Linked DNA regions of Homo sapiens: regions 1, 2, 4, 5, 6 and 7 are each linked to region 3. The links are contacts of gene promoters, found by promoter capture Hi-C in blood cells and fetal thymus (Javierre and others, 2016). All regions are on one chromosome and are shown on one strand. The core of a region is centred on a gene start or on the middle of the fragment in contact, and the rest is flanking DNA. Distances in the headings are between cores, read along the strand shown. Region 1 overlaps CAMK2D (calcium/calmodulin dependent protein kinase II delta). Region 2 overlaps CAMK2D (calcium/calmodulin dependent protein kinase II delta). Region 3 holds the start of ARSJ (arylsulfatase family member J). Region 4 overlaps CAMK2D (calcium/calmodulin dependent protein kinase II delta). Region 5 overlaps CAMK2D (calcium/calmodulin dependent protein kinase II delta). Region 6 overlaps CAMK2D (calcium/calmodulin dependent protein kinase II delta). Region 7 overlaps CAMK2D (calcium/calmodulin dependent protein kinase II delta).

Evidence for each region. The method cuts DNA at HindIII sites, captures the fragments that hold promoters and counts their contacts. A CHiCAGO score of 5 or more calls a contact.
Region 1: a contact is called between a fragment that was not itself captured here and the fragment with the promoter of ARSJ in region 3, in 1 of 17 cell types (non-activated CD4 T cells). The highest score is 5.4, in non-activated CD4 T cells.
Region 2: a contact is called between a fragment that was not itself captured here and the fragment with the promoter of ARSJ in region 3, in 4 of 17 cell types (total CD4 T cells, monocytes, naive CD4 T cells and 1 more). The highest score is 6.1, in total CD4 T cells.
Region 4: a contact is called between a fragment that was not itself captured here and the fragment with the promoter of ARSJ in region 3, in 1 of 17 cell types (total CD4 T cells). The highest score is 7.1, in total CD4 T cells.
Region 5: a fragment that was not itself captured here is called in contact with the fragment with the promoter of ARSJ in region 3 in 1 of 17 cell types (monocytes); the score reaches 5.1 in monocytes.
Region 6: a contact is called between a fragment that was not itself captured here and the fragment with the promoter of ARSJ in region 3, in 1 of 17 cell types (naive CD8 T cells). The highest score is 5.1, in naive CD8 T cells.
Region 7: a contact is called between a fragment that was not itself captured here and the fragment with the promoter of ARSJ in region 3, in 3 of 17 cell types (non-activated CD4 T cells, naive CD4 T cells and total CD4 T cells). The highest score is 7.5, in non-activated CD4 T cells.

Annotation. Positions count from the first base shown.
Region 1 is chr4:113,586,837-113,590,504 of GRCh38, reverse strand. All of the region lies in intron 4 of CAMK2D (calcium/calmodulin dependent protein kinase II delta), which reads left to right. Among named protein-coding and RNA genes, the nearest start is that of CAMK2D, 170 kb to the left of the region's middle. RefSeq lists an enhancer at 1,960-2,129. The HindIII fragment of the contact is 3,852 bases long and covers 1-3,668 here.
Region 2 is chr4:113,484,615-113,488,221 of GRCh38, reverse strand. The region is part of intron 16 of CAMK2D (calcium/calmodulin dependent protein kinase II delta); the gene reads left to right. Among named protein-coding and RNA genes, the nearest start is that of CAMK2D, 280 kb to the left of the region's middle. The HindIII fragment of the contact is 917 bases long and covers 1,498-2,414 here.
Region 3 is chr4:113,977,781-113,981,107 of GRCh38, reverse strand. It overlaps ARSJ (arylsulfatase family member J), which reads left to right and starts at 1,461. Exons shown (of 2, transcript NM_024590.4): 1 at 1,461-2,671. The coding sequence starts at 2,274. It overlaps LOC107986305 (a long non-coding RNA gene), which reads right to left and starts at 1,295. Exons shown (of 2, transcript XR_001741794.2): 1 at 1,122-1,295; 2 at 1-738. It overlaps LOC124900762 (a long non-coding RNA gene), which reads left to right. Exons shown (of 3, transcript XR_007058237.1): 3 at 144-213. The HindIII fragment of the contact is 10,512 bases long and covers 1-3,327 here.
Region 4 is chr4:113,533,122-113,536,675 of GRCh38, reverse strand. All of the region lies in intron 7 of CAMK2D (calcium/calmodulin dependent protein kinase II delta), which reads left to right. Among named protein-coding and RNA genes, the nearest start is that of CAMK2D, 230 kb to the left of the region's middle. The HindIII fragment of the contact is 2,029 bases long and covers 551-2,579 here.
Region 5 is chr4:113,642,945-113,646,752 of GRCh38, reverse strand. The region is part of intron 3 of CAMK2D (calcium/calmodulin dependent protein kinase II delta); the gene reads left to right. Among named protein-coding and RNA genes, the nearest start is that of CAMK2D, 120 kb to the left of the region's middle. RefSeq lists a cis regulatory region at 722-733, enhancers at 656-800, 557-1,061 and a silencer at 2,906-3,200. The HindIII fragment of the contact is 6,339 bases long and covers 1-3,808 here.
Region 6 is chr4:113,611,845-113,615,551 of GRCh38, reverse strand. All of the region lies in intron 3 of CAMK2D (calcium/calmodulin dependent protein kinase II delta), which reads left to right. Among named protein-coding and RNA genes, the nearest start is that of CAMK2D, 150 kb to the left of the region's middle. The HindIII fragment of the contact is 558 bases long and covers 1,786-2,343 here.
Region 7 is chr4:113,511,471-113,515,339 of GRCh38, reverse strand. It overlaps CAMK2D (calcium/calmodulin dependent protein kinase II delta), which reads left to right. Exons shown (of 21, transcript NM_001321571.2): 10 at 149-271; 11 at 1,427-1,510; 12 at 1,970-2,012. Among named protein-coding and RNA genes, the nearest start is that of CAMK2D, 250 kb to the left of the region's middle. The HindIII fragment of the contact is 4,836 bases long and covers 1-3,869 here.

The DNA of each region.
Region 1 (3,668 bases), core at 563-3,062, 390 kb after region 3:
CTATCTTGAATCATGATTATCCATTGACTTTCACTGTAATTTCTTATATTTCTTGTTAAAAGGGAGGATGGGGAATCAGATTTTAGAATTTTCTTTAAAGGAGTTCTGTCATTCTCCTAAATAACATACTTTTTTCTTCTGTGTCTGATATATTTCCATTTAATTGCCTGATGTTTCTCTTAGCAAGAAATTAAACCAATATACTATCAAGTTAACCTGTCTGTCTTCCCTATCAGATAGATCTCTATCTATATTTGTTTTCTCAGTGTCTTGCTCAGTTTCTGGAACTAGAAAATGCTCAATAAATATTCATTGAGCCAAAGTGAATGTTTAAGATTCTACATTCATTTATCCATTCACTTATTCATTCAACAGATACATTTAGTGTTTTTTTATGTAGCTGGTACAGTGCTGGTCCCTGAAGCCCAAAATGAGTAGGATTTTGTGCCTCTCTTCAAGATATTTTAAGTCTTTTGAATATTCATTTAACCTTATTAACATGCATATATTCAAAATATCATAGAGGTAATTTGGCCATACCATAGAGGTAATTTCCTTCCACCCTTTTGTATCTTCTTTGCGGGTTCTTCCTCATCTCCCAGACATTTAAACGTAGGAGTACAAGGGCTTGGTCCTTGGGCATCATGCATTCTCTGCTTATACTTGCTTCTTAAGAATCTCATCCAGTATCATGGCTTTAAATTATTCCATCTATAAGCTAATGATATCCAAATTTACAACTGCTACTCAGACCTCTACCCAAACTCCAGACTTGCGCATTCTGTTGCCTACTCACTATCTCTACTTGCATGTCTAATTGGCATCTCAAATTTAAGATATCTAAAACAGTTCTCCTCATCTCTCTAAGGTCAAAGTTACTCCTCTTAGTGGCAACTCCGTCTTTTTCAGGCTCACAGTCCAAAAACCTTAGAGTAATTATTGACTCATTGCGCCCTTCTCTTACTTACCATATTTGACTCATCAGCAACTCCTATTAGATTCAAAATACATTCAGAAACTGAATATATTTCACTCCGCTCCAGCCATACTGCCTTACTCATAGCCTGGTGCATGCTAGGCATATCTCAACTTCAAGACATTTGCACTTCTTGAATCTAATATATTCAGAACTTGAATCTGTCAGAACTTGAATATATCTTGAATCTCCACAGCACCCCCTTGGCCAAAACCATTATCATCGCTTGCTGGATCACTGTAAAAGTGTCCCAACTAGTTTTCCTCTTTCTACCCTCACCTTCATATAGTCTTCTCTCAACACAGTAGCCAGAGAGTTCCTATCAAATTCCAAGAGCATGCCACTCCTCTGCTCAAAACACTCCATTGCCACATTGCCTACTGCTCTCCTTCTGACCCACTCAGCCCCAGCCACACTGCCTACCTCACAGCCTGGGACATGCTAGGCATATTGCAGCTCAAGGTATTTGCACTTCCTCTTTCCTTGGCCCTGAGTGTTCCTCTCCCAGAAACCTGCATGGTCTCCCCAGCTCTCCTCTCAGAGCTTGGCTCACAGAGGCCTTCCCTGCCCACCAATCTAAAAGTTGATCTGCTTTCTTCACCAACTTTTCTTAATTCCTTCCTTGGCTTTTTTTTTTTTTCTTTTTTGACACCACTATTAAACTACCATGAATTAATTTATCTGGTTAATTTTCTATATTACCAACTATGACGTAAGCTCCATTAGTGCAGGGACTTTTTTCTCTTTTGATCACTATTATCCCCAGTGTCTAGAGCACATAACAGATGTTCAATAAATACTTTTGCAGAAGAGCACATGAGAAAACTTCTGGGAAGAATATAGCATTGTTTTGCAAAGGGTTTAAAGAGTTGTAAGTGAATGTTTTAGGTTTTCTTTCATCTACTTGCTACTTTGGTTACATAATGGTGCCTCAGTGCCAACTATTGCCTAAGTAATAGTTAATTAGTATGCTCAGAATCATAGAAATTGATTTTTGGTCAGTACTAAAACTAGAGATTTGGTTTAGCCAAGTATCTGCTTTTGAGCAAAATGAGACATCATGATACGTTTTAAGAAATGAAAATAGTTATGCCTGTATGGTCTAAATAGAGGCAGTGTTGTCTCACATGGTATTTATGATGTACTTAAATTGAAATATGATTTTTCTTTATTATTATGATGCTTAATGATTTGAAGTATCAGTATGTACCATTTACCTTGTCTTTTTCTTAGAAACATTTGGCTACTTATTTTTAGCCAGCAAGTAAAGTAGGATATTCAATTACCCGGGGAGCCTGATACTAATGGCTATAATTATTTAAGCAATTGAAGTCTTTCCTGTCATTTTCTTTCTCAAACCCACAAGGTGCCAAGACTGAAACATGCAACGTATATACATGGATTAATATATTTTCTCAGTGGTTGCATTCTTCAATGGAGTCTCTGGAAAGAAAGACTCTTTTGTTTGCTTTTTTAATCTCTTATTTTGGAATCTGAAAACTATTCAACCCTTTCCAGAAATGTTGACCCAAATGGGGCATTTTCATGGGCAGAAAGAAATATTTTCTGCCTGCTCTTGCTTGAACAAAGAAACCTACTGATCTGGATGACATCATCATCATATTTGGCTTCTTTTCCTAGTATTATTGATGATACAGACTTTTTCGAAGGGTATGCTTAGCTGATAATTGTGAAACCCAAAACACTTGGGGACTATGACTAGCGTGTACTGATGATAGACAGCCTCATGCCATAGGAATTGCAATATTTAGACCTTTAAAATTTAGGCCCAGAGTTTGGAAAAACTTTATAACTGACTGTTACTAATAGTCTGGAGAAGGAAGAACACTTTCCATATACACTTAGATTTAAAGCATTGTTTCTGTAACTTTGTGTTTCAATATTAACTATTTCTCAATGAAACTATTTCTCAAAGCAACCTCAATCCTTCAGTTCTCTTTAGTTGTTCAGATAATCTCTTCCTAAAGAAAGCAAAAAATAATTAAGAATAAAGACCCTGCTCTTCCTTTTGAGTGTTACGGTGTGAAAGAGAGTTTTAGAGACTGGGATGTTGTCTCTGCTGAAAAACCTAACTATGTGAATAAGACCTAAGAGTAAAAAGCCATAGTCACAAATGAAATTTGCCTCAGGCGCATGTTACTGAATTGCCTTTATCAGCATGTGAAATTACTTGAAAGTCATTTTGATTTTGTAAAAGAATGTCTGGCCTTAATAAGAGTGAACATTTGTTAAGCACTTACCATGAACTCCTCCTTCTCAAACTGACAAGCATATACACATTGTCTCATTGACAGTAACTCCATAAGGTATATAGTATTATTCTAATTCTTCTTTACAGATGAAATTGAGGGAGGAGAGTTTATTTGCTTTACCTAAGGTCACAGAGTAAGTGGCTGTGCTAGGATTTAAACTTAGATTTGCCTGACACTGAAAATAGTGCTATGAACAACTGTAAAATATTGCTTTATATTTACTCTTTAGCAGAACTTAGATGATGGGGTATTATGTGCTTGCATTTAGTTTTGAATGGTTTGTTTTTATCTCTTTCCTTAAAACAAAAGTTAACAAGAGACTTTCTGAAGTCTTATTTTTTATTCAAACTGTTTTTTGTATCCCTTCCTTGTTCCATGACCCTGTTCTTTTACCTGCATGCCCTGAACATGGAGCTAAC
Region 2 (3,607 bases), core at 707-3,206, 490 kb after region 3:
CTTTCTCATTTTTGTTCATGTATCTATTTTTTTCCCATTACCTAACAAAAATTGTCCAATTTAATAAGCTACTAAATCTAAGGTTTGTGTAAATTTTAAAATATTATTCCTTCTATCTTCTTTATTTTTTCAGATTATGGCTTTATCACTTTTTTTAAGTGATGTAAAATATAAAATGTCAGCAAGGATCTGATTTGAATCTGAAATCTATATTTGAGCAAGTTACATAATTTACCTGTGGCTCAGGTTTCCTCATAACAGCAGAATGTAGATATTGAAATCAATAATACAGACTTTTAAGCTCTTTTTCTACTCTACTGTGATGCAATACTATTAATAGATTATTGTAAGATCTCTTTATATAAAATGATACATTCTAATACATATTATTATAAAACAATTAGATGTTAATAATATAAACTATTCAAGCAGTCACAGAAAGACATTTAACTCAAAGTTTAAAGAAACAATACACTGCTACAGTTTTAGGAAATCTTATTAAAACTGGGAAAAAATGGTGTTCACCAACCTGAATATCCAAAATGTTATCAATAGCACTATAGGACTATAAAGTTACTACTTTAAACACATTCCAGTGAGAATTATTATGAGGTCAAATTTTATGTTTCTAAAGTTTCCATACAAAATTTCTTTAATATCTAAAATTAAATTAATATTTGAGCTCATTCATTTCTATATAGAAGTTAAATCCTAATTATTTGCTATGTTTTTCTTAACTATGAATTTTATGTAATTCTGAAATTATTTATTAGAGTAAAATAATTGCTTGAGTGAAATAATGTCTCCTTTGCTGAGTTTGTATTATTTTATACCAATAAATATATCTATAAATTATGTAAAGTTATATGTCTATATCATGATTCTTTTTGTGAGTAAGTGGAGTGGCCCTAATTTTATTTTCTGCTATGGATTTCTGCTATAACCCCCTTGATTTGGTCAGGAGGAATTAGGTCTAAAGTATTTAAGAAATTAATCTCAATCCTGTGCAATTTTAATATCCCACCAGGTTACAGGTGATTTTATCTCAAGCTAATATGATAGATGATAAAGTAAGGAAAAGCAAGATATTAGCAAGTGAAAGCAGAGAAGACATTATTCAGTGAGGAGCTTAATGAAAGAGCTTGTGTAGAAATAAAGAATTTTTATTTTTCACATCCGAAACAGTGGTATTTTCACTTTTCAATTTAGTGCAACAAATATTTTATGAACACCTGTAATGTATAGTCTTCTAACTAGACTCTAGAAGATTTAGAAAAGAAAGATGATTCTACAAGATAATGTTGCAGGCAAAGACACAAATGATTGAGAGAGTTTCAAACGGACTGGGCTAATTCTGAGTGGATTATAGGGACTGTATTCTAGTATAAATCAATAGAGAGTGAATCGTGATCAATAGCACTTAACTAAACTACAATAGTTGTGTTCAGTCCAGGGAGGGAAACTCAACAAGGCAGCTTTCCTAAACATTTCCAAGCTTTGTTGTTATATTAAAAAATAATTTAACAGCATTGGCTATCATGTAAGTATAGCATCAGGAAGCAGAGATTGGGTATAAGAAAAACATAAACATGCCAAGGATTCAGGCTTAATATTCTTGTACTTGGAGGTATTTTTGGCCATAAAGTAAAAATGCAATCAATGTATTGGATAGATGTAATGGCACACATTTTCTGTCTGTGTCTTTGCTGTGAGTTTTCCTTTCCAAAGTTCTGCAATATATTAAAACTGAAATATTGAGTTTTCTTAATAGTTCTGAGGTAAGAAAAGATTATAATCACCCAAGCCCAGTGGCTCATACCCGTAATCCCAACATTTTGGGATGCTGAGGCCAGAGGATCTTTTGAGGCCAGGAGTTTGAGACCAGCCTCGGCAATATAACAAGACCCCATCTCTACAAAAAAAGAATTTATAAAAATTAGGCATGGTGGCACACACCTGTAGTCCCACCTACTCGAGAGGCTGAGGCAAGAGGAGGCCAGGAGTTCAATACCACAGCGAGCTATGACTGCACTACTGCACTCACTCCAGCCTGGATGACAGAGCTAGACTCTGTCTCTTAAAAAAAAAAAAATCAAAGGAGGAACTACTTAATCTCTTTTTTGTGACTTTCTTCTGAAAATTGAGTTTATAGAAAGCTGGTCTAATCTGAGAGAGTTCATTCACTCTTCATATCTCTTCACCAATGGTCATTCTGAAAGGACTCCTCAAAGATAAAACTCCTGAACTTAGCTTTAAAGGGGAAGGTACTATTAACCAGGTGAAGAAGGTGCGAGAGGAGAAACATTACCAATAGAAGGCACAGAAACAAAGCATGGTATGTCTGAGGTATTGCAGGCAGTCAGGATATTACTGAAGAATGAAATGCAAGTTGGAGAGTGGTAGCAGATCAAGCTTGAGAGGAGGGAAGGTGCTAGTTATGGGAGCATTGAGCCATATGAAGGAGCTTGAGCTGATCTAATATTAAGAGATGAGAGGCATACATCATAGACAAGGATGATTCTGCAAGATAATGTACCAAGCACCTGAGGAATATCAGAAAGTTTTAAGCAGAGGAAAGATGTGGTAAGATGTCCATAGGTAGAACACTCTGGTGATTCTGTGGCATATGTATTTGAAGGCTATAAGACCAAAGATGGTTAGACCAGTTTTAAGACTATGTCTAAAGGGAGATACATGGTCAAGGGAGGGTTGAGTTTTGTTTTGTTTATGTTTTAGGATGAATGAGTCTAGATCAAGTTTGTAGGCTAATGATAAAGGACAAGTAGGCATGAAGAAATTTGCTGATCATTTTTACATTTATTTAGTAAGTTACTCTTTCAGCAAATATTTAGTGAGGGACTATTGAGTGCCAAGCCCTGTTAAAAGCGCTGGATATTCAGAGGCAACAACATAGATAGGATTTCAACTTTCATGAAAGTTAGATTTTAGTGGGCAGAAATAGCTAATAAACAAGGCTCATAGTTTCTACCAAAGACTTACCCTTGGGATAAAAATGATCACAGAGTAGCTAAAGACTTTACCTTACATTATCCTGATTAAAAACTCCATTTGTTAAGTAGGTCTTATTAACCCAGTCTTTCAAAAGAACAATCTGAAGCTTAGAGAGGTTAAATCATATAACCACTAAGTGCTTTAACAGGAGCTGGGATCATGCTTTGAACCACTGCACTGAACCACGTGGGGATTTATGGAATCCCTCAGCCCTCACATTACTCCAATATTATATCGTATGCATTTAATAATATGTAAAAGTATTCCAGAAAGGTTAGTGGCAAAGACACTTGCCAGGGAGGTTTTCTATCAAACATGAAGACTTCCAAGTTAGGTAGCACAGTCTAATCTTACATCTGCAGGAATCATCTTTTGCTCCTGGGATCAGGTATGAGGTCCTAAATAATGAGGAAAGATGAAACATAATTCAGGATAATAGCTTATCTTTTGTAAAGAGCCCCCAAAGAACCTTAAAACCATTTCTGCTTATAAAGTTTAGCTCTAAGGCTATAAAGGAATGTGTTGACTTGATTGATAACAGCATGTTATTTGTCAGTTTTTGTGAAGTTAATTCTACTGAATAGAACCAATTGGT
Region 3 (3,327 bases), core at 212-2,711:
CATTAAGCCTAGGGCCCTACCTCTCAATGCTTTTCAATCCCCTGACACTCAGTACTCTCATTACATATTTGGTGACTTAATTTACAGAATTGCTAAACTCACATTTCTGAACATGGCTTCTAAAACTGACTATCTCTCCCCAGCTTAGCCAGAAGGGCTGCAAGGAAGAACAGAGACCAGAAGGCCTACAGCAGCTAGCAAGGTTAACTTCATGGAGCACCATCGTGCCTTTCAAAGTTCCCATTTCACAAAGTTTTGCCTGGGAACTCAGCAGGAACTTTAGCAACAGGAGAGAATTAGAAATAAATGGCTAAATGAAACCTAGATTTATGTTTCAGTCAATTGAGAGAATCTGACATGTTATGTGCCAGCCCACAGTAGGTATTCAGTAAGTAACTGTTGAATAAATTTGGTGGTAGAAAAAAATATCTCAGTGGCTCTTGGCATTCATTGCCTCTTCTATAGAGACTATACTATACATCCCTCTGCTGCCTTTGAGCAGGACTTTAAAACTCTATGACTCTAGTAAAATCAAGAGTATTTTCACAACCAAGATAAGTTTTTACAATGGTTTTCCTCCACATGGTAAAAAAGAAAGAAGGAAAAAAAATGATGAAGCTCCCTGAATTACTGGATGGGAAACACTGGCTTCTTTAATGCAGGAATGCAGACTGGCTTCGGGGTTCTTGAAGGAGAAATGCATAACTCTTCCTCTCCAGGCTTTTGGCTGGAGACACCCTGTGGGTAAGTTAGGGGAGAGGTAAGAGGGAGCGGGCAATTCCAGTATTTTCACATAGGGAAAGGGTAACGAAGAATCAGGCTGTAAAAGCCAGCTATTGGGAGAGGAAATAAAACTTAAAAATTTGTCATCGTTACTGAAAAAAAAAAAAAAAAAGGTAGGGACAAAAGGAATAGGAAAATGATGGGGGTGGGGGGACTAGTAAAGGAAAACCTGCAAAGGAAGTTGGAAAGAGGAAAGAGTGTCATACGCATTTTGTTTTTATTCCTGCTCCTTCTCTCTCACTCCCTCCAGAAGCTAGAAAAAGTTTGCAAGCGCAACTTTAGGGATGGGAGACGGGGCTCTTCACCAACAGCCCCACGAAAAGAAGTGCCCGCTTTACCCTTCCCCATTCGCGCCGCCGTCCTTTCCCTCTAGCGGGGTGATGGGCAGGAGGCGACACTCTTGGGACGCGGTAGCCCAGGCGGATCCCCCGGAATCCCGCTGGGCTGGAGCAGCACGCAGCTCTCTCTCTGGCAAAGCCTCCTCTGCCTTGGCCATCCACCTCCCGGAAAAGAAAAAGGAAAGATCGAGCCTCTAAACAGTCCTTTTCCCCCACCCCCTCTTCCCGGGGGAGCTCAGGAAGAAAGTACCGTTCTGTGATTCACTGGAGAGAAAAGAGGGAGGAGGCAAAAGAACTCGGAGTGCCAAAGCTAAATAAGTTAGCTGAGAAAACGCACGCAGTTTGCAGCGCCTGCGCCGGGTGCGCCAACTACGCAAAGACCAAGCGGGCTCCGCGCGGACCGGCCGCGGGGCTAGGGACCCGGCTTTGGCCTTCAGGCTCCCTAGCAGCGGGGAAAAGGAATTGCTGCCCGGAGTTTCTGCGGAGGTGGAGGGAGATCAGGAAACGGCTTCTTCCTCACTTCGCCGCCTGGTGAGTGTCGGGGAGATTGGCAAACGCCTAGGAAAGGACTGGGGAAAATAGCCCTGGGAAAGTGGAGAAGGTGATCAGGAGGCCGGTCCACTACGGCAGTTTATCTGTCTGATCAGAGCCAGACGCGACGCGTCCACTTCGCAGTTCTTTCCAGGTGTGGGGACCGCAGGACAGACGGCCGATCCCGCCGCCCTCCGTACCAGCACTCCCAGGAGAGTCAGCCTCGCTCCCCAACGTCGAGGGCGCTCTGGCCACGAAAAGTTCCTGTCCACTGTGATTCTCAATTCCTTGCTTGGTTTTTTTCTCCAGAGAACTTTTGGGTGGAGATATTAACTTTTTTCTTTTTTTTTTCCTTGGTGGAAGCTGCTCTAGGGAGGGGGGAGGAGGAGGAGAAAGTGAAATGTGCTGGAGAAGAGCGAGCCCTCCTTGTTCTTCCGGAGTCCCATCCATTAAGCCATCACTTCTGGAAGATTAAAGTTGTCGGACATGGTGACAGCTGAGAGGAGAGGAGGATTTCTTGCCAGGTGGAGAGTCTTCACCGTCTGTTGGGTGCATGTGTGCGCCCGCAGCGGCGCGGGGCGCGTGGTTCTCCGCGTGGAGTCTCACCTGGGACCTGAGTGAATGGCTCCCAGGGGCTGTGCGGGGCATCCGCCTCCGCCTTCTCCACAGGCCTGTGTCTGTCCTGGAAAGATGCTAGCAATGGGGGCGCTGGCAGGATTCTGGATCCTCTGCCTCCTCACTTATGGTTACCTGTCCTGGGGCCAGGCCTTAGAAGAGGAGGAAGAAGGGGCCTTACTAGCTCAAGCTGGAGAGAAACTAGAGCCCAGCACAACTTCCACCTCCCAGCCCCATCTCATTTTCATCCTAGCGGATGATCAGGGATTTAGAGATGTGGGTTACCACGGATCTGAGATTAAAACACCTACTCTTGACAAGCTCGCTGCCGAAGGAGTTAAACTGGAGAACTACTATGTCCAGCCTATTTGCACACCATCCAGGAGTCAGTTTATTACTGGAAAGTAAGTGTTCCTACTTCTTATATTTATTCCTTGGAGAAATCTTAAGCATTTAATGAAGATCCAGCTCCAAATTTAAGGGAGTAACAGAAAGTATGGGGAACAACTGAATGAATGAAGAATGAATGAATGATGTATGGTATTGGGGTACCGTGTTAAAATGGATACAATGTTAATGATCTTAATTTTCTAGTCACTAGTGTAGTCTAGTTTTCCTTTTTACAGAGCCAATTATAAGTTTCTAAATGAGATGAGAACGTATAAATACCCACAAACCAGAGATTTCCAGAAATGGTCTCCTGTTTCAAATCTATTCTACTTTTGAGCATGCTCAGATTTTGTTTCAGATGTCATACTAGAATTCACACTCACCATCACTGATAAGAAAGATCAAAAATTTTTTTTACTCTTGGTGCATTCTTAAATCTAGAATTATCAGAGAAAATGAACCAACGAAACAGATATAGAGTAATGTAAAATATGACCAGTTTATGTATGACTCTGCTTCGGTCTTTGATGGGTCATTTTCTCTTATGAGACCCCCTAATGAAGGCCATATTTAATTAGCAAAGCAGTTCTCAAAATGCAAGGAAATACAATGGTAAGTGCTCAAGAGGAGTCAAACTTCATCTGCAGTTTTCTGTTGCTCTTCACAGGTC
Region 4 (3,554 bases), core at 316-2,815, 440 kb after region 3:
AATTATTTACTCATTAATTTTCATATGCCTCTCTCTGCCATTTTCCAATATCCAACCCACTTCCCATGTATAGTTCCAAAAATATAACCTCTCCCCAAGCCTGTCTTGTCTTCTGACTTTCGGTGTGTTGAGGTTAGATAATTGTTTTAATGCCCTTCATTTCTGATTTATTTTCCTCTGAGCAACAACAACAAATAGAGGACTAAAAACATGCTATTTCTTTGTTTTATATGCAAATACTTTTCTGAGTCCCTAATGTACACATCTCCCAAGATGTACATATGGCTCCCAGGATTCACCACATCTCCCTTTTCTGCCCCAGCTGTTACTGGGAGTGGAGGGTGTGCCAAGCCTCCCTGGCAGCCTAATGCAGGACCTCAGTTCCTGCTGCCTGTCCTTTTTCAGTAGTACCTGACAGTTATTCTTGGTTGAAGTCTCTCTCATGTTTAATATTATCTTTTACATTATCTTTTTACCCTCCAATCCTAGATGAATTTAATACCTCCAAACTTGTCATTCTGTTTATAATATTTTAACTTTTTAATAAGCTTGTACCCATTAACTGCAAACTGAACGAAGGTAGGGCCTAGATTAGGTCTGTAAATTAGAGATTCAGATGATCTCTGTATCCTGGAAAAGAGTACAATTAACACAGAAAGAATATATTGTAACAGGAGTTAAGGGTTGAACAGGAAGTAGTGGGGCTATCACAGAGATGGGCAAAGCAAATACTAGAGATACATAAATTAAGTAGGAAGTCCTGACCCTGGAGGAGCTAAGGCTTTTGTATCTATAACTATTTACCATTCAGGGTGGAAGTATCTTAACATAGGAATGTATGAGGTGCTGTGGGAACACAAGACAGGAAGTACAAAAACCTGCCTCTGGAGAGAGGTTCAATAATTGCCTTAACACTTATGGTTGCCTAAAGGATGAATGGGACTTTGCTCACTGTCATGCAAGAAGATTAAGGCATTCCAGACAGAGGGATCTGCACATGGAAAGGCTCAGAGGCATGAAACTATTTTTTCTATTACAGTAAAACAAGAAGTTTGATAAAGCTAAAGTATACTCGAGTGAGTAGTAGTTAATGAGGCAGGAAATGATTTTATGTTTTTTTGAAGGATTTGGATTTCACCTTAGAGATTTTGGGATCTGGTGAAACATTTTTAGAAGAGAGGGACATAACTGGGTGTATGTTGTTTAATAATGATTCCAGTAGAAGTATAGAAGATGATTTAAGCATAGTTAATCTGCAAGCAAGGACCCAGTTAGACTAAAACAATCGTTCAAATTATGCATGATGATAGCGTTGACTAGGGAGGGTGTAGGAGCAAGCAAGTTCCAAATAACATACAGATCAGACAGGAAATATGAACTCTAAGGGAATCTGTTTAGGAAACATGAAAGTCCCAGACATTGGGTTCAAAGACAGGACTCGAGTCCTGTGTAGAGCAAAGCAGGACCCCACTTCATGAGAGACTTGGGGTATGAGGCAGGATACAAAAATGGGAACTTAGGCCCAGGGATATAATTGCCAGAAATTGGTAAAGATGATGATAGGATATCAGGAATAAGACAAGCCTTTGTTATCAGGTCTGAGGCTCAAATTAGCATCAGCAGCTATGTTTGATGATTACAAGAATGTTGGAATCAAGCTCCTTAAATCTCGTCTGTTTTTGAGCTTAATGTTTTATCTCCTCTGCTATGACACATATAGTTTGAGAGCAGGGCTATGTGTAGTGGAAAAAATTTTACTTTATGAATCAGAATATATGAATTTATATCTTGGCTCTGATTCTTAACAGCTGTATGATATTGAGCAAGTCACTTTAAATCTGTGAGGTCACTATCCTCTTTGTAAATGGGATAATAAACACTTCTTCACAGGACTGTTATAAGATTGAGTGAAATAGTCCATAGAAACTTGATTGAGCTATAAAGGATGTTCAATAAGTTTTCAAAATTGTCTTGGTGTGAAACAATGACATAATTCTTTGCATATTCAGTGAGAGTTGTTTAGTGAATCAGTGAGTAGAGGACTGAATATCAGGTCAGTAAAAGCAATAGCATCCAAATAAAAGTACATAGATTTTCAAATTGTTACTGATTTCTAAAAACAAGCTGGTCCCAAAGAAGCAGTGACAGCTCAGCAATAAAATTTCCACTTCATCAGCATGGTGCTATCAGCAATTAAGTTATTGTTAAGGTACCTGTTAGAGTAATAACTTTTAAAAGAAGCAACATCTTAAGTTCTAAGGCAATTCAGTATTTCAGAAGTACAGAAAAACAGAGTGTCTAAACTTGGGAGAATATACTTCTTTTTTCTCTTTCTTTTTCTTTTCTCAAGTTCAAGCGAATCTTCATGGTAATCTGAGAAAAAAGGAGATGTGGTGTTCTACGTTTCTTTCAGATGAGCTGCCAGATATATTTTAAGTATTAGGAGTAAAGGCATGTTTTAATAATGAATGACCTGTTTTGATGTTTATTCATTATGATCTGCCATTATAGTCCCATATATTTTTACTGATTAATTTTATCTTTCAAAATGTAATATCAGTGTTTATGGAGGAAAAGCTTTGTTATTTTAATTTTGATAAAGAGCAGGACTCTTTCTTCATTATGTGGAATACCAGAGCTTCAGGCTTTTACATAATTTTATTTTAATAAATATACGAGGTCCATTACAAATAAGAAAAAACATAGTATGTATACGAAACAACATAATAGATAATACAAAGCATTATGGAAGCTGTTTATTGTTTTTTTTTTAATTATCATTTTTCAAGTCCCAACTTGTTTGTTTTTTCCCATATTTACTTTTCATTTTCTAGTCTGGTCTGTTGGAATACTAGCCAAAACTGGTAGAAGTAAACACCCTGTCACTATACTTGATAAGATGGCTAGAAAATTTACCAAAAAGAAATATTCAAATATATTCTGTTTCTCTTATGGAACTGGACATGTTATTTGCAATACATTTCTAGCATTTTGTTGCTGCTAGAAAAAAAAAAGATAACTACCAAGATCTTGGTTCATGGAAGAATTATTTTGCTTTGTTGCTGTTATGTCTCTTTTTTATGATATTAAGGTTCTTTTTATGCCAATGTGTTACAATGGATACATTTCCAACAGTCAGTAATTCTCTTTTCTCTTTGTGTTATCTATTTTGATTTTCTTATTGGTTTTTCAAAGTAAGAAACATATGCTATCCCTAAAAAAGGCAAGCTCTCATTACTTTTTCTATTGATGGCATGTAGTATGATAATCCTAGATTCTTGCAAGTTTAATTTCCCACAGAGAAGGTCTTCTCTATTTTACCCCCCATATGTCTGTATTTATGAGGTCACATTGTACCGTACATTCTTTCCTAACGTCCATGCATTTAGATATATGCTTCAATATTCTTGGGGTAAGGACCCCATTGACTGCTCAAATGATGGTTGTAACTAAATAAGAATGAGCATGCTGGTATTCTCTTAGAATTTTAGTCTCCAGAAGAGGTTTGTAATAATTTATATTTTAAATGATCTTTTCATTTCTTCCTCACATAG
Region 5 (3,808 bases), core at 728-3,227, 330 kb after region 3:
GCTTGCAAGGCCTTCCACAATGAACACCCTCTCTCCCTTCTTAGCTTATTGTTCTTCTGATCTTAGCTTCTCTCCCCCTCAGTTGCTCTGCTCCAACCCCTCTGGGCTCCTTGCATTTCTTCACCTGTTCCTGATATCCTCCTGCTGGGCCTTTGCCTGGAGTTCTTTCTGAGGATACAGCAAGGAGGCATGCTGGCTCACTTCCTGCAGGCCTTTGCTCATCCAAAGTGGAGGCCTGCCCTGACAGCTGTGTGTGAAAGAGCAGCCTTCCTCCCCCATGCCCCACCCAGCACTCCCTAGCATCCTTCTTGCTTTATCTCTGATGCACTTAACAAGATTTTGTATATTTACTTGTTGATTTGATTGTTTTCTACCCAGTAGTATGTAAAACTTCATGAGGGCATGGACTTTTCTTGTTTATTATTGTACCTAAAAAAGCACCTGCCGTAGAGTCTGCGCTCAATAAATACATGCTATAGGAGTTAAACAACGTGTGGGTACATATATTTTTTTTAAGTTCAAGTTTAGATTATCTGAAGAGGAACAAACACTTCTATTAAGAGAAAAGCATAAATTTTAACTTATGGCACAGCTGTTTTGTTTAAGTTCATCTGCAGGCTTTTGCTTTCCTTCTGGCTAAAATGACTATCAATGGCCCTGGGCTGGCCCACACCTAAAGACTGTAAAACAGGAGAGCAAACAATTGACTTCTCCCTGACTTGCTAAGTCAACAAACCACATGAGTCAGCAAACCTCTTTTTACTGCCTGACCTTCCTTAACATCTCCTTATCGTATTCTGAAATTCCTATTCTGCTGGCTGGAATCTTGGCCCAGACCCTTTTGGTGATCTTTGATGTGTTTCTCATACACCCTGCAGCATTTGAATCATCTTTGTCAGGAGTGTGAGGGGCTCATGGTCTCTTTTATGTGGCAGACACCTAAAACTGCTAGCTGCTTCCTTACCTTCCTCGGGAGCATTTTGATGATACTCCAGAAAGCAGAACAGCACTATCAATAAATGTCATGGATTTTTTTTTTTCTCCTTGCTGGATTACCTAGCCTTTCAGATAAGGTTGGATAAACCTTATTCTAGGGTAGCCCTTTATTTGACTACTCTACCCTTCCAAGCAAAAAGCTGCTTTTCAAATGAAGTTATCAAACTACAGTAGTCAGGAAAGAAAGAGAAAGGTTGGTTATCTCTCACTGTCACTTGGGAGCTCTGTCCTGGAACAAGGATTGACAAACTTTTCTGTAAAGCACCCAATAGTAAATATTTTGGGCTGTGCTGGCAGTGCTACCTCTTTGTCATTGTAGCACAAAAACAGCCACAGAAACTTCATAAATGAATAGGTATGGCTATGTTCCAATAAACCTTTACTTATGGACACTAAAATCTGAATTTCATTTAATCCATCTCAAGATGTAAAAAACATTCAGGCCGGGCATGGTGGCTCATGCCTAAAATCCCAGCACTTTTGGAGGCTGAGGCGGGCGGATCATGAGGTCAGGAGATCGAGACCATCCTGGCTAACATGGTGAAACCCTGTCTCTACTAAAAATGCAAAAAATTAGCTGGGCGTGGTGGCGGGCGCCTGTAGTCCCAGCTACTCAGGAGGCTAAGGCAGGAGAATGGCGTGAACCCGGGAGGTGGAGCTTGTAGTGAGCCGAGATTGTGCCGCTTCACTCCAGCCTGGGCGACAGAGCGAGAGTCCGTCTCAAAAAACAAAAACAAAAACAAAAAACAACAACAACAACAAAAAATTCTCAGTACAGGCTGTTCAAAAATAGGTGGTGAGCTGAATTTGGCAATTGAGCTATAGTTTCCTGACCCCTGCTCTACAGTGAGATGACTTCATCTTTGTGGATTACTTGGACCTTGGAGGTCTGCTGAACTCCCTAATGCTTTTTTTTCTTGGATCTGACAAATAGCTTTATTTGTGTCTCCCGGCCACTTTGTAGATTCTGAATCCTAGAAGGGAGAAGCTAAAATATCTGGGTGCAGTGATGATCTGCTTTGCTTCCCACTTCTGAGTTTCTCTAATTCTGGAAGATAGTGTCATTTCAACTCTGATTTCTGGTTTAGCTCAGCTCTCAATTCTAGGTCTAATGTGATACAAAAAGCCTTACACCTGTTGCTTGGTTTTGTTTCAGTCTTGCTGTTGGTCTTATTGTTACCTACCTTCTCGGTTGCCCATTGACTAGATTTCTTGCCTCATGATAAAGCTCTGGATAATAGCTGCCTACCTCTTGGTGCCTTCATCTGCCAACCACCACACCTAGGTAACCTATGAATTTTAGACTTAAGCTGAGACTACTCAAGGCTTCCCTTTATTCATTTTCCTTGGGAACTGATGATCTATTTCAGATTACCTTTGAATTTACACACAAGTGCTGCTTCTAGAATAATTTTGACTCCTGACTTTTGCTCTTACTTTTAAACTTTTGTCCCATTTATGATATAGGTCAGCTTTGTCTTCATTTGGCAGATTTGTAACCATCTAAGCCAAGAATCTGACAAGATATTATTTTTTCTGTTTCTTCTGATTTTATTGAGGTCTTTTTCTTTTTGAACCCATCTGTTTCCCCATCTTTCTCAAAACACCCTGAGTATACCAGGGTCTGCACGTCTTATGAAGTCAAAGTTAGAATCACTTCAGTTGTGAGCTTGCCTTTCTTAATTACACAAACTTCTTCTGACAATAATAGGTATAAACTAGAATGACATAATTTGATGTAATATAAGACCATTTTTCAGAGTACAGAAAAGCATATTGTATTCACCTTGATTTGCAAATATCTCATGAAGAGAATTACTTTATTCTTTGGGCCTATTTTTCACTTGTAAAGCTGGCCTGGGTCCCCATAAATACTCTGTCCAGTTTAATTTGAGTTTAACATGACACTGAGGAGTAGTCTGATATTACTCAGAGAGGGTGATACAACTCTGAACTTGTTGGCCCTTATCAGATATAATTTAAATTTCCCCTGGAAAGGGAAATAAGCACTTGGAATCAAGGCAAAGAGCCAAATCCAGCAGATTATCAAGATGGTCGGTGGGAGGAAAGTCTGATGGTTTCCGCTGCTAAGCGTGGGAGATACTGACCTACTCTCATTCACTTACTTTTGTACATAGATGTAGACTGTGAGCTGCCAAAATAGAGAACAATTCTTACTTTCTGTCAGCAGCTTATCAGAATTCCCTGACCTCCAAAAATGATGAACACAGTCCGGACCCTGTTCTTATGACTGGTGATTGATACAGCTGGCTTAGCTCTTGTTTTTTGACTTGCTTTTATTGGGCCCTGGACTATTTGTTCTACACACTTTAAATTTGGGTGCATGAGCACCCAGGTATGACTTCATAGACAGCCCTGTTTCTGATCTGAACCTATCATACTTGCCTCTGGCTTTGCCCTTTTATCCTCCCAACTCTCTACACTAGTGCTTCTGCCCTTGTTGGACTTTTTTTAAAAACTTTTTTATCATGTTTGTATCTTATATCTTGGAAGACAGAATTATCCCTTTCTATTGAAATATAATACTTTTAGCATATATTTGAATGAATATAGATTGAAGAAATGTAATGTCACTTGTCTTCCAGGAAAGACTTTCAGTTTTGTGGATTAAAACATTTGGTATTTTGATTGTTTAATTTCTAATCTTGATTTATAGGACACAGATAGTTTCTGCTCTTCTTTTGTTACATATCTATTTGTAAATGATTTGGTAATACTGTTCAGATGTTCCCTTTTTCTAGCTTTTCATTTTAAATTGTAGTATCTTTCTTTTATTTTATAGATATAGTTT
Region 6 (3,707 bases), core at 815-3,314, 370 kb after region 3:
ATAGAGAGATTTGGCTTCACTTTTCTAGAAGTGTTAGTTTGATTTTGAACTTAGTTTTCAGTGCTTTTGTGTTTTCTATTTGAAAAGTTTTCTCTCTAGAAGTGAGCAGCTTTGTCATAAATAAAGCCAGGAGAATAATGGTTGAGCTGAAATTTCTCTCCAGAGAGTGTAATTTGACTGTTAAAATGTTCTAATACTAGTGTGTGTGTTTTTACATTTTTAATGTAATATTGAAAAAAGTGTATGTAGATATAAAATTAATACATATATGTATATATTTATTATTTTTAATTTACAAATGAACTTAATGTTGGCTTCCCTCTTTTGGGGTAGACTTGGCGTGTTAGATGGCCTAACTTGGCTAGTGCTTGTTTTAGCTATGAATTATAATTAACTACTGATGGGAATATAAAAAGGATCTGACTTACAAGCTGCCATTTTTGCATCCCAGTATGTGAACCAAATCCAACTACCTCAATCTTTGAAACACAGCAAAGCTAAAAATGCAAATTCTGCCTCATTAATAACCAGGACTATTACTCAGAGCTGACAAACAATGATTATGAGGATATAATACAATCTGTTCTGTATGAATTACTCTATTAGTATCATGATAATATTGGCAGCATTGCCCTACCATGCTCAGTTTTAGAATTTTTACTAATTCTTTCTTACTTTCTGAGGTCAGACTCATTCTTTTTTTCTGCTAAATTTGCTTATGATATTGAAAAACGTATTTGAGGACAATGTGGTCAATCACACATTTCAGATTAAGTCTTTTCTGTTTATTTATCTATTGTTAGGTAACAATCCCCATCCCAGATTTAATGGCTTAAAATAACATCAGTTTATTATTTGTGATAATTCTATGAGTTGACTGGATTCAGTCAGTTGGGTGCTCTACTGTAGCTGAGGTCATTCATGCAGTTTCGTTCAGCTATGACCTCTGCTAGTAATAGAATGTCAGAATTATCTCTTATCCTCAGAGGTTTCTCTTCATGTGGCCTCTTGTCTTCCAATCGAACCTGATCTTTTCTTTTAGCACAGCAAGTGGTTTCCAAGATTACAGCTCCAATGTAGAAAACATATTAAGGTTTTGCTTGCATCACACATGCTACTCACTCAAAGCAAATCACATAGCCAAGCCCAGAGGTAATGTGGGAGGGGACTGCACAAGGACATGAATAATGATAGACATAGTCCACTGGGGTCCACCAATGTAATTGACTGCCTCCTCTCCATAATAAATTTTAGTGAAGAGGAACAGATAGTGAGTTTGGGTTGTATGGCAGAGTAAGAATCAGTATAATTTGAACCAAATAATATTTTATATAAATAATTTCATAAAATTATAATTAACAACCTTGGTTTTATTTTGTGTGGGGGGTACTGTTAAGAAATGGAGGAGGAAAGAAGTAGTACTGAAATAGAAAACATTGACTTTGTATCCTGTCAGCCTTTTAGGAAAGATATTAAGTCTCAATAAAATAATATATTCCTTTTCTTTTGACAGAAGTGTTTCTAACATGTGTCATCAAAATGGATAAGGTGTACCTAATCACTGTTGACACAGTTTCTACTTGGAGTTTAATTTTCCTACTCTTTTCCCTCTTCTCCCTTGCCCATTCATTTCCACTTCCTCTCTCTCTCTCTCGCTCGCTCTCTCTCGCACACACACACATACACACCTTTTTGTCCATGTTATCATAATGTCCATGATGTGAAAGTTAATTTTTGGAAATGAAAATGATTTAAATTTATGATATTTTGTATGTTGGGTAAGCTTTCAGATTCTTCAACTTGCTAGCATTTTTGGTACATTAAATGTTCTATCAGATAAAATAGCTGAGTCACTGGCAATTCTCATATTCTTAATTTGAAGTGGAAAAATAACAATTTTCTGGGGCTTTAGGAACTGTATAGAGAGACAAATGTGGCTTTGTATCCTAGACATCATCTAGCTACCTCTGTACCCTCAAAATTATAGCATCACATTTTAAACCTACAGTCAAAATGGTTTTCTTTTTCTGTGGAAATTGTCTGTTACGTACTTGTTACTACTTTTCTTTCTCTAGTCACCATAATAATTTTTTTATTTCTTCTCTTTTGAATTTTTTTTGAATATTATTTTACCCTGACAAACCAGTTCATATCCCACCAGGTATTTGGCAAGTAGTTTGTTCACAGAAAGGTTTCAGGGAGCCCACGTAGTATTCTCAGTAAGAACAAGGTCTTTGGAATCATCCAACTCTACATTTTGGTCCTAGCCAGGCCAATTACTTGCTGTTAACCTGGAAGTTTCCTCCATACCTCTAAGCCTGTGAACATTCATTTGTAAAAGCTTATGGCAAAATGTCCTTGTGGTGCTTGCATATATTAAATAATATAACTCTTGCAAAAATTATTTGCATTGTGCCTGACAGTAAGAACATAAGTTTTATTATATCTTTTAACCCCTTAAGTGAAATGAGGAATTAAATAGAAAACTTCTATCATATTTAATTAAAATTTCTCAGATCATACAAGGACCATGGTCTATTTGACCCCTTCTTTATGGAGCTAATATTTAGCTAGAAACTGCAATGGAATAATGCAAGAACACAGAACAGGAAGAGAAAGCAGCGATCCTGCAATCATTCAAATGTGATAATACATGCAGGAGAGAAAGGAAAAGAATTAGGCCATGGGTCAGCTAACCTTTGGAACTATTTTTAGCCTCAGAAGCACTTTTATCCCCCTTATAAATTCCATACTTAAAGTTCCAGAATTTAAAATTTGATGAGAACTGTTGTGCTGTTTCAGGTTGTGAAAATTCATTTATTCATACACGTAATTTTACCTTTGAGCAAACTTCAAAAAGAATGACTGCCAAAATGTATTATAACCTGTTTTCTCAAATGTTTTTCTCATTCTCTTTTTTAAAATTTCTCTCTAAAAACGTCATAGGGACAACTGTAATTAGGCTAATTGCGTCCACTCATATGTGCAGCTTATGGCAATAACAGAGCAGTCATAGAAAGAACGAGGTGCAGTATGCTTCAAAATGCAGCATCTGCAGTGCTGTCAAGGCCAGCCATGCCGTCAGTCTTGAGCTAACAGCTGTGATGAACAGAATGTTGTGTTATTCCTTTGGTGTGAAAATGAATTGACAGTTATTTATAGGGAATAATTAATGTAACATTTTGTAAAAGTAAACATGATTTTCAATCCTTGAGAAACTGTTAAAAAGGAAAAAAAGAATAGGAAATGAAGGATACTTTTGACCAACAGAAAAGGCTTGAAGAGAAATAGATGATGTCTACAACTAAAACACTATCTTCCAGACCGTTTAGACATACCATCAACTCTGAGAATAATAGTTGAAGAGTTAAACATTTTTAAAGGAAACAAACCCATCCTCACAGTAATTGTGAACATGTGGAATGTCTCTGTGAAGACTATAGTATCTACTTTTGTTAATATAGTAAGTAAAAATCATGACAATTTCTTATAATTCTGTTTTTTCAGTTCATTATTTAAAATAAGAGAGTGGAAGGAAGTAGGGTGGGACATAGGAAGGAAGGAATAAAGGAAGGAAGGAAATATGTATATATTAATCCCAAGTAAATATGATGCTGAATATGTGATATGAATAACACATTTATTCATAATCTCGCATGGTCAAATGGCTGGTTAGACATATTAGAGATTATTTTGGAATTGTGTGA
Region 7 (3,869 bases), core at 254-2,753, 470 kb after region 3:
TATTTATTTTAGATACAACTTAACTTATATAAAAAGTAAATTTATGAAGAAATTCACTACTTGAGGGAATGATTCATGTAGTTGACTCTTCCCTGTTTGATCGAGTGTGTCTATTTTTTAAACTTTTTATAAATTTATATTTTTGAAGTTTCCATCACCAGAATGGGACACGGTGACTCCTGAAGCCAAAGACCTCATCAATAAAATGCTTACTATCAACCCTGCCAAACGCATCACAGCCTCAGAGGCACTGAAGCACCCATGGATCTGTGTAAGTAAAACTTCTCCAAAACTTCAAGAACTAAAATGAAAAATAAGCTCTCCTTTAATATATTGTTTATGGATTTAAAATAGCTTTGCAAAAAAAGATGAAACTCAGAATGAATGAATTTTTGACTCGAGGTGTTTAAGAAAATTAATTTTATGATGGTGAAAAAATGCAATTTTCAGTAGCAAAGTCTGAATTGCATAGATTCTTAAATAAATATTGCTTGCAGTAACAAAAGGAATGAGTATTCTCCATATCAATTATTAACAATACTCATGAACAAGGTTAAGAAAATAACACCAAAATTAAATGTGTCCCAGAAGAAAAGATTTAACAAAGTTCAATTATTTATCATTAGGCAACTTTAGAAACAAGTATGAAGTTTGGCAGCTGACAGTAGAGTTTCAGTGGCGTAAAATAATGGTCATAGTAGTCTGAATATATTTTAGAAATATTAAGAAGAATAGTGTGAAATTTGAGGGGGATCTGGAGACTTCAGTAAATTTCCAAATGTGTCAAATGCTAAGGTGATAAATGTGGCACTAAGTAAATGAAAGGCAGCTCAATCAAAATGTGATTGAAGACATTAAAATAAAGATAATTTGAGAAATTATTAATATTCATTTCTATACTTTCTGGTTTGGTTTTGTTTTGTTTTGAGACAGAGTCTTGCTCTTGTCACCCAGGCTGGAGTGCAATGGCACGATCTTGGCTCACTGCAACCTCCACCTCCCAGGTTCAAGCAATTCTCCTGTCTCAGCCTCCCGAGTAGCTGGGATTACAGGTGCCCACCACCACGCCCGGCTAATTTTTGTATTTTTAGTAGAGATGCGGTTTCGCCATGTTGGCCAGGCTGGTCTCAAACTCCTGACCTCGTGATCCACCCGCCTTGGCCTTCCAAAGTGCTGGAATTACAGGCGTGACCCACCGCGCCCGGCCCATTTCTATACTTTCTATACGTCAGTGTTGCATCTTGGTCACAAGTAGTCTTGGCAAAACTAAAATTTTATTTTTAGGTAACTTTGGCAATTGAATACTTAGAAGTTGATCCTGCAGGTGCAGCACCATTAATAAATATTTGATGAAGTCAGGGACATTATTATACTTAGTGTGTTTTAAATATTCTCAATTAAGTTACTTTTTCTCCTCTTCTTCTAGCAACGTTCTACTGTTGCTTCCATGATGCACAGACAGGAGACTGTAGACTGCTTGAAGAAATTTAATGCTAGAAGAAAACTAAAGGTAAGAAATTTTACATTTTTATGGGGAGGTAGATTTGACAGACTAAGAAGTGAAATACTGTGTGAGGAAAATAACTTCTAGCAAAGGCTTTCAATTATGTAGACCTCAATACTCTCATTATTCTTTTTGGGGCTCTTGGGAAATGGAATATACACCAGAATCAAAACTATGGTGAAAAGCTGGAATCATCCTGGCAACACATGCTGTGGATCCTTCCTTCAGTGGAAAACAGCTGTGCAATTTGATAATCAGAATCTGGCCCGCACACTAGGGCCGTCCCAGCATCATGAGAGACAAAGGCCTTTGACTCTCAGGAAACCAAAAAACAAAAACAAACAATAAAAAATCCCCTAACTGAAAGTAGGGCCAGGAAAAGATTTGTTATCAAAGACTCTATATTTGTTAGGTCCAGAATTTGCATAGGCAACACTGACTTTTGTGTTCTAATTTTTTTCACAGGGTGCCATCTTGACAACTATGCTGGCTACAAGGAATTTCTCAGGTACATGCATTGGGAACTCTGCTTCTTATCCCTTGGTCTTCTTTTTAAGTAGTCTCTGTTTTTTTGTCTCTGGAATTTTAAAAATCTAATAATTAGAAAAACTTCATTGTTCAGGGGTGGCAAATGTGTGGCACAGATTCCTTCTACACCTATGGCTGCCATTAGCAGTCTACCTGGGTGCTGTCTGCTGCCGAGCCTCCGTGACTGAACCCCTCACAAGACTGCTTCTGGCAGCAGTGGCCACCAGTCAGTGCTGGTGCAGGACTAGCCTCATCTGTCAAGTGCTGGGGTGCGCACGAGTTGTGGAAATAAATACTCCCTCATTTACGATCTCAGCGTTTCAAACCTAGAATTTATTACTGATATTTCATAAAGTAATAACTTTGAATAAGTTATTTTTGGTCTCATTTTCATAGGGAATCCTAGTATGCAAGATTTTTAAAAGAAGACCATTATTGGCCGGGCGTGGTGGCTCACGCCTGTAATCCCAGCACTTTGGGAGGCCGAGGCAGGTGGATCACAAGGTCAAGAGATCAAGATCATCCTGGCCAACATGGTGAAACCCCGTCTCTACTAAAAATACAAAAATTAGCTGAGTGTGGTGGCGCGTGCCTGTTGTCCCAGCTACTTGGGAGGCTGAGGCAGGAGAATCACTTGAACCAGGGAGGTGGAGGTTGTAGTGAGCAGAGATCACGCCACTGCACTCCAGCCTGGCGACAGAGCGAGACTCCGTCTCAAAAAACAAAAAAAAGGGAAGACCATTATTGAGGAACCCAGTTCTCTTAGACCTAAGTTCATTCAAAAGTATAGTATTTTCTTGGTGTACTATAAAAGTGATTACAACTGTCAAAGGTATCTAACTCAAGAATTTACAGAGCACCTTGCACTCAGTACTATCAGAGCATAATAAATGTCCCTCAAAATGATTCCATGGTAAAAATAAGTTTGTTAAATAATAGGCTTAAAGAAGCCAAGCCATTTCTTTATTGTAAGCGTCACTCTCTAAAAGTGGAGATAAAGTATATATTACTCCAAGAAATTACTTGAGTTTTGCAACCTCCTTCTTTGATAGATTGTCTCAAAGGACCAGGTTCCCAAAAGTCAAATCTTGTTCAATGCTAAGCAGTCTTATGTAGGGGGAAGGACTGGAGCAGCAATTAAGCCGCACTTGGTAACCTTTGGCCCTTTAGACTTGGAACACTTGTCAGCCAAAAATACTACCAGTTTAGTTTGGATACAGTTTACATAACAGTGATCTGCAGCATCAAACTGTCCAGCTATTTTTTCAATTCTTTATTTTGTTTTCTGCTACATACTTAGCCTGGGTGTTATAGTGTTATCAGGTAATAATCCATCATATCATTATTAAATGCTCTTCAACCAATATCTAGTTATTATTTACAACTGCATTAAGTGGTCACCTTTCTCCCCACCTTTGCATTTCATTACAAATAATGGGAAACCATAAGAGGCCTTTCAAAGGCTGTTAAAAAATAGCAACAACAGTAGTACAATGAATAATGCTACGAATTGAGGGACTGTGTTGGCCAGTTGTATGTATTTTGTCCAATTCATTTAGTGTAATAATACCTTGTTGCTGCCTTTGTCAAGTTACCTGTTTCATAAACCATTGATTAATATAGTTGACATTTATATGGGTGAGTTCAATGCCATATCATTAAATATTAATTCATATATATGATATTCAAATAAATTTCACTGTGGCCCAGTAATTAGTGAATCATTAAAAGGTAGAGTGATTTATATAGCATAAATTGTTAATGGCAAACTAACCCAAACTTTAAAAAATCTTCACATTTAAAACTGTACATTTTGTTAAAGAAGTGTTAAATACAC